Linked DNA regions of Homo sapiens: region 1 is linked to region 2. The links are contacts of gene promoters, found by promoter capture Hi-C in human tissues and cell types (Jung and others, 2019). All regions are on one chromosome and are shown on one strand. The core of a region is centred on a gene start or on the middle of the fragment in contact, and the rest is flanking DNA. Distances in the headings are between cores, read along the strand shown. Region 1 has its middle 40 kb from the start of SNORA48B. Region 2 holds the start of ARSF (arylsulfatase F).

Region 1 (3,953 bases), core at 361-2,860, 450 kb before region 2:
AGGCCTGAGACTGAGAAGAGTTGATGATGTGAGTTCCAGTCTGAGCATGGAGGCCTGAGACCCAGGAGAGCTGATGATGAGAGTTCCAGTCTGAGTCTGAAGGTCTGAGACCCAGGAGAGCTGAGGGTGTGAGTTCCTGTGTGAAGGCCTGAGACTGAGAAGAGCTGATGACATGAGTTCCAGTCTGAGTATGGAGGCCTGAGACCCAGGAGAACTGATGGTGAGAGTTCCAGTCTGAGTTTGAAGGTCTGAGTCCCAGGAGAGCTGAGGGTGTGAGTTCCAGTCTGAGTCTGAAGGCCCAAGACCCAGAAGAGCTGATGGTGAGAGCTCCAGTCTGACTCTGAAGGTCTGAGACCCAGGAGAGCCAATGGTAAGAGTTGCAGCCTGAGTCTAATGTGGAGTCAGGAGTAAAACTATTGTCCCAGCTTGAAGACAGGCAGAGAGAGCAAATTCTTTGTTACTCCATTTTTTTCTTTGTTCTATGTCCACCCTCATAACAGAGGACAATCCTTTTTCATATAATGACTTCTTTTCTTCTGGATAGATACCCAGGAGTGGGGTTGCTGGATCGAATGGTAGTTCTACTTTTAGTTATTTAAGGAATCTCCACACTGTTTTCCACAGTGGCCAACAACTTTTCTGTTTTCTTGTCTTTCCTCCCTGTTCCCTAATGACACCACCGTTGAACCAATTGCTCTGTTACCCACATAACAGAAGACAATCCACTCTACTAAGTCTACTGATTGATTCATTAATCTCAACCAGAATAATATTCATAAACACATCTAGAGTAACATTTGACCAAATATGTGGGAACCCCATGGCGCAGCCAGGTTGACACATATAATTAGCCATGACAATGCCTATGTATGTACTTGTTTGTGTGTGTATGTATGTATGTATGCATGACTCTTACTATGCATTAAGCACTGAACTAGCACAGAATAAAAAATATTATACCTTTTGCTGGAAAACATTCACTGTAGTAATATTCTGTGGTCATCTGAAAACAGTGTTTGCTGTTTCCAAATACAAATGAAAGAATGAAGGATCAGAAAAAAATAAATAATGTAGCCATTTAGTCAGCAATATGGAATGGATAACTGTGATTCCATGTAAAAAATCCATGCTTAAACATTGATAAAAGACTAATGCAGCCACTCTCTAAGGTGTTTCTGTGTTTTCTGGGCCCCTCATTGCTCAGAACAGGATGCCCCTCTGGTCATCCTGCTCTGCCCATGGCATTTGGAGCACCTTCCTCCTGGTAGCCTTGCTGCTAGAAGGGGTAACTGAGACTGCTTCCTCCGTCACGTCCCTCTCTTGAAAACTTGTGTTCCCTGTTTATTTATTTGTCACAATATTTGGTCATGTTTACATATTGCTTAAAGATTCTTTGCACCTTCTGCAGGGTGGATTCAAACTCAGCTTCCTTGGCAAAGGTGACAGCCCTTGGCAAAATGCATTTATTTGTTTTAAATAAGTTTTTCCTCTCCACCACCAATGAAACTGTCAGCCTCACCAATCAGGTCCCATTCACCCAACGTGGGAGACGATGCATTCTCGCTCCGTTTCATGAAGATGCAATTGCTACTGTCACTTCACCCAGGCATTCTTTTCACACTGGAAAGGCGATGGTTTGTAAAATTGTCTCTGAATTCATAGAAACTACCAAATAACCTTTAACTTGGCAGAAGATCAAAGACATAACAATCTATTAACCCAAAAGGCACAAGTGGCAAAGAATCTTTATGCTGTATATCAACATGCCCAAATATTGCAATAAATATTATGCAAAACATATGCCTTTGGGCTGGTATGTTTTTGAGAAGCAAGCTTTGCTATGGCTCTAATATTTCAAACCACAGTAGAATTTCCCTTTGACGGGGTCACCCAGGCATCTTATCTGTCAAAATTCGATGAGGCAAACAAACAGGGCATGTCTCATCATCTGCGAAATCCAAATACGCGTATTTCCCACTAATGAATCCCTAATTAGGTCTAATAAAATGTTATCCTGGTCAACAATCCCATGGTAAGACATACCATGAAGTGACTCAACACAGCTTGCTCCTGTTTTCTGTCGAGAAACCAACAATTAATTTCAGCTATGGAACTTTGCATTTAAAGCTGGGCAGAGAAAATTTATAATAGGAGTAGGCTTTTTTTTTTTTTTCTTGAGATGGAGTCTCGTTCTATCACCCAGGCTGGAGTGCAGTGGTGCAATCTCGGCTCCCTGCAAGCTCTGCCTCCCGGGTTCACACCATTCTCCTGCCTCAGCCTCCTGAGTAGCTGGGACTATAGGTGCCCGCCATCTCGCCCGGCTAATTTTTTTGTATTTTTAGTAGAGACGGGGTTTCACTGTGTTAGCCAGCATGGTCTCGATCTCCTGACCTTGTGATCTGCCAGCCTCGGCCTTCCAAAGTGCTGGGATTACAGGCGTAAGCCACCCGCGTCCAGCCAGGAGTAGACTTTTAAACTCAATTTGACAAGCACCATTTGGTCTTTTTCTTGAATACTAGATTGATAGTTAATGAGCTGGAGTCTTCCCTCATCCTGACTTTTGGGTAGGTCATTCAGTTGTAAAGAACTTGCCTCCATGTTTACAATAGTCATAGCTCATGAATGCATGAATAATAATAAGTATTGAGACATTAGTATTAGTAGGTAGTGTCTGTCGTAATAGACGAATCACTTGTTTAGGTTGATTATGGTATGCCCATTCTAAACTCATATTTGCCATATGAAATATTGATGAGTATTGGTGCTGACAAGATAGAGACGGTAAAGAGTAGAGAGTGGTCCAAGAAGGCTACATGCACCAGCTAACAACCAGCTCCTTCCTGTTGGATTATTTCTGTACACTCTACTTCACCTTCCACTCTGTATTGCAGTGGTCCCCAACCTTTTTGGCACCAAGGACAGGTTTCATGTCAGACAATTTTTACAGGGATCTGGGGCAGGACAATGGCATCGGGATGATTCAAGCACATTACATTGATTGTGCACTTTATTTCTATTACTGTTACATTGGAATACATAATGAAATAATTCTACAACTTACCATAATGTAGAATCAGTGGGAGCCCTGAGCTTGTTTTCCTGCAACTGGAAGGTCCCATCTGGGGGTGATGGGAGACAATGACAGATCATCAGGCATTAGATTATCTTAAGGAGCATCAACCTAGATCCCTTGCATGGGTAGTTCACAGTAGGGTTCATGCTCCTATGAGAATCTAATGCCACTACTGATCTGACAGGAGGCGGAACTCATGTGGTTATGTGAGCGATGGGGAATGGCTGTCAGTACAGATGAAGCTTTGCTTGCTCGCCCACCTGCTGATCACTTCCTGTCGTGTGGCTCGCTTTGTAACAGGCGGTGGACTGGTACTGGTCCATGGCCTGGGGGTTGGGGACCCCTGTTTTATTGGATGGGAATAAATATTACCAAAGTGACCATAGAGAGAGAGATTGGATGCCAGGTCTACAAGCAAAGAACACCAAGGGATTAATGAAATTCACCAAAAGCGAACACAGCGGCAGATTTTTTCAGAGCCTCCAGAAAGAACCAACTGTGCCGACACCTTGATTTCAGACTTCTGCTCTTCAGAGCCGTAAGGCAATAAATTTATGTTGTTTTAAACCACTCGTCATACAGAATTTGGTGATAGCAGCCCTAGCAAAAGAAAAAATGCACCCAACTTTTTTGGTAAATTGTGTCGTGGAGAGAGTGGAAGTTTTGGGAATTTTACAACCCATCAGACACAGGGGGAGATTGTCCTAAACATTATGAAATGCATCCCAACATTGCAGTTGCCCGGAAATACTTACCAGCAGTACCAAGGATTGCTTGCTCTTACTGACTCCTTAACATTCTGTCCAGCCTTATAATTCAGTTATGATGATGTTTTATGATTTATTATTATTATAAGTCTTGTTATAATAAGCAAAAGGGC
Region 2 (4,186 bases), core at 678-3,177:
CCTAGAATGATTATAATTTCCTTTTAGTTATAGCAAACTTAATTACATAAAAATTTTTTTGAATTCCTTTTTTACAGACTGTATTATGACTTGCACAGACCATATACAACCTGCTTGGATTTTCTGTTCTGTCCTAAACATCTCTCTTAAACAACAAGATTCTTTCTCATACAAAATTATTTTTCTTTTAACATTTCTTACCAAAAATACCTCCTTGTAACTTTCTTCTTCTTTTTTTTTGAGATGGAGTAGTCTCGCTCTGTCACCCAGCCTGGAGTGCAGTGGCACGATCTTGGCTCACTGCAACCTCTGCCTCCCGGGTGCAAGCAATTCTCCTACCTCAGCCTCCTGAGTAGCTGGGATTACAGGCACATGCCACCATGCCTGACTAATTTTTATATTTTTAGTAGAGGTGGGGTTTCACTGTGTTGGTCAGGCTGGTCTCAAACTCCTGACCTCATGATCCGCCTGCCTCAGCCTCCCAAAGTGCTGGGATTACAGGTGTGACCCAATGCACGCAGCCTAACTTTCTTTACATCTCTTGTTTCTTGGTTCCTTTTACCATATTTCATAAATAACCCTTAAATAAACCTAGAATCTGGCCGGGTGCGGTGGCTTGCACCTGTTATCCCAGCACTTTGGGAGGCTTAGGTGGGTGGATCACCTGAGGTTAGGAGTTCGAGACCAGCCTGGCCAACATGGCAAGACCCCTATCTCTACTAAAATTACAAAAATTAGCCAGGCATGGTGGTGGGCACCTGTAATCCCAGCTACAAGGGAGGCTGAGGCAGGAGAATCGCTTGAACCTGGGAGGCAGAGGTTGCAGTGAGCTGAGACTGCACCATTGCACTCCAGCCTGGGAGACAGAGCGAGGCTCCATCTCAAAAAATATAAATAAATAAACATGGAATTAGATGAAAATAACTTAGCTTTGAATAAGAACATATTTTTTAGAAAAGTTTTTCTATAATACAATTTATTTAAATTGAAAATGGCCCAGACATTTAGTGAATATCTATTATTTAACTTTAGATTCTAAATTATATTTATTTACAGGCATTTGTTTCATTACATTTACCTAATTAATTTTATAAAATCTTTTACCTAGATTATCTGTGAAAACTCTGATAGTCATCATTTAAAGTTATTTCCCTGTTAACCATTTTTATAGTCTATGAATTTTCTGTGTTTGCCTAAGCAAAAATTTTAAATATATATATATTTTACTGATAACTTGGGATTTAGCTCTTTTTACTACACTAATAACATTAAACGTCTTATTTCTCAAAAAGTACAGAAACAAAGATTATTGTGTTTCATGCTGGGTTGCTGGGTTTATAGTTTTGTAAGCCTTATGCCAAATTTTGACACCTTATAATATCTGTCAGAGGTAAATATGAAACTGCTTGATCAGTAAATGCAAACAAACATGTATGCTGACAATTTTTAAGATATTTCTAATACTATCGTACCAATAATTTTAAAGCCAGCTTATTTATTAAAGATTTATGTAAGTCACGTGAACTTGAAAAGCGTTTTGGCTTATTATTTAATTTATGAGTACTCTTTGACTTGAAGCCAATTTGACACTTCAGGGCTAAAGCACGTAAAAAATGTATATGTGCACACATATGTGCATGTACATAAACACATCTAAATACGCATGCACACTCACACAAAGATCCTATAGCTTTTACTTCAGAACTCTAGCAAGAGATATCAACACAAACTCACCAGTTTATACAAACAAAAAGGTTGGATCCCAACAGTGACTTCTATCTCAACAGCAGTGGAAAAGTAACAGAAGGGCCAGGAGTGGTGGTTCACGCCTGTAATCCCAGCACTTTGGGAGGCCGAGGCCGGCGGATCACTTGAGGTCGGGAGTTCGAGACCAGCCTGGTCAACATGGTGAGAGCCTGTCTCCACTAAAAATACAAAAATTACGTAGACGTGGTGGCGCACGTCTGTAATCCCAGCTACTGGGGAGGCTGAGGCAGGAGAATCGCTTGAACCTGGAAGGCAGAGGCTGCAGTAGATAGCGCCATTGCACTCCAGCCTGGGTGACAGAGCAAGACTCTGTCTCAAAAAAAAAAAAAAAGAAAAAGAAAAGAAAAGAAAAGAACAAAAAGTAAACAGAAGATTTAAAGTAGGCAGAAAAGAAAATAGCAAAATAGAGGACTTAGGAACTGATTGGTTGCAGGTTGACCTTTGGGCTGGAATTTTCTCTGGTGTAATGTGTGCAGCAGTTTAAAGTGTGAACAAGCACAGACATAATATGTAACAGGAAGCTTCTTGTTTGACCTGGCATGCCCTCAAGCTTTTCCCGCTTACACAAATACTTGCAAGTAGAGGAACCAGAGAACCAAAAGGGGTGCCCAAATGGGGGTCGCTCTCTCCGCCTTTCCTCATCCTTACATGCTATGTCTCCCACTTTTATTTTAAAATGAGGAACTAAACTGTGGCCTGGGTTTTAGTAGGGTGGATTGAAGTGTGCTGGCTGTGAGAGGGACTACACTGTGTGTCACCACTGAGTCTTTCTACCCTTTCACGTGTCTGAGTTTCTCTCTCCAGAGGTCTAGACCTCTGACAGGGCTCAACATAGCAAGTGATCAGCTCTTACACCTGTCTCCTGGATGAGCCTCTTAAAATTAATTTTGTTGTGTGGTTCCCTGTAGGGTCACTGCACATCATGGCAGGAGTCAATCCCCCAGAGACTCCCACTCAACCCCTACCACCCAGGGGTGGTTTTTGGCTAGGAGGAGCAAAACTCCCTTTCTTTTCCAAGCTGAGGAGGTCAGCCTCTCGTTTGGCAATTCAAAATTATGCCACAAAAGTGGCAGTTCAGTCTCTCACGCAAATGTACTCACAGGCCAATCGACATTAATTTGGGGGGAAAAGGGCAGTGGAGAAGACCATTTAGAATGCACCACCAAACCTAAAGTAGGATCCTATACAACAACTTCCTAGGAGAAAAATAAAAAGGAGGTAGAAAAACAGCTCAGAATGAACCAAGGACCATCAACCAAATGGAAGGTCCAGAGCTGCAGAGGACTCACCGGTTCCACTGGAGGAGAAACCTAAAGCCAGGGAGGGCTTCCAATGGCCCTGCGGGTAACTTAGCTCCGGGTTCGGGCAACTGCGTCAAGGATTCTGAGTCTTTTCTGAGGCCCCACGTGTAGGGCACCAATTAATGTCCATGAAAAGAGTCAAACTCTGTAAAATATTTGAAAAGAGTTATTCATTTAACCAATGGCTCACGACACAGCCCCAAGGAGGTCCTGAGAACAAGTGCCCAAGGTGGTTGGGTGACAGCTTGGCTTTATACAATTTACGGGGACAGGAGACATCAATCGACACATGTGAGATGTACATTGGCTTAGTCCAGAAAGGTGGGATTCCATTCAAAGTGAGGAACTTCCAGGTCGTAGGTGGATTCCAGGATTTTCTGATTAAAGACCTGTAATTAGTAGAAAGGAAATGTCTGGGTGAGGATAAGGCGTTGAGGAGACCAAAGTTTTTATTATGCACATGTAGCCCGCAGGTAGCAGGCTTCAGAGAAATCAGGTAGTAAATGTTTCTTATTAGACTTAAAATGGTGCCAGACTCTTGCTTAACCTTTCCTGGATCAGAAAAAATAATAATTTCACAGTGGAGAATTCCAACAGACACCACTTAATCCAGGTGATGAAATTTAACATCACCAGGACAGGACATACAGACATCATGCACTCCGTAACATGACACACTGAAAACTTACATCAATTCTGATGATTTTTTTGCCAAAAATGCATAACCTCAGTCTAATCATGAGAAAACACTGGACAAAACCAAACTGAAGGCTGGGCACAGTGGCTCAAGCCTGTAATTCCAGCACTTTGGGAGGCTGAGGCGGGCGGATCACCTGACATCAGGAGTTCGAGACCAGCCTGGCCAACAAGGTGAAACCCCGTCTCTACTAAAAATACAAAAACTAGCCGGGCGTGGTGGCAGGTGCCTCTACTCCCAGCAATTGTGGAGGCTGAGGCATGAGAATTGCTTGAACCTGGGAGGCAGAGGTTGCAGTGAGCCAAGATCGCACCACTGCACTCCGGCCTGAGGGATAAAGGAAGACTCTGTCTCAAAAAAAAAAAAAAAAACTGAAGAACAATCTATAAAATAATTGACCATTACTTAGATTGGATAGTGG

What was found. Contacts are between HindIII fragments. The study calls those that stand out against the background at their distance.
Region 1: a fragment that was not itself captured here is called in contact with the fragment with the promoter of ARSF in region 2 in 2 of the 25 tissues and cell types used here (mesendoderm cells and thymus).

Annotation. Positions count from the first base shown.
Region 1 is chrX:3,489,997-3,493,949 of GRCh38, reverse strand. No RefSeq gene overlaps it. Among named protein-coding and RNA genes, the nearest start is that of SNORA48B, 40 kb to the left of the region's middle. The HindIII fragment of the contact is 6,620 bases long and covers 1-3,953 here.
Region 2 is chrX:3,039,212-3,043,397 of GRCh38, reverse strand. ARSF (arylsulfatase F) reads right to left here and starts at 1,927. Exons shown (of 11, transcript NM_001201539.2): 1 at 1,735-1,927. The HindIII fragment of the contact is 6,572 bases long and covers 1-3,447 here.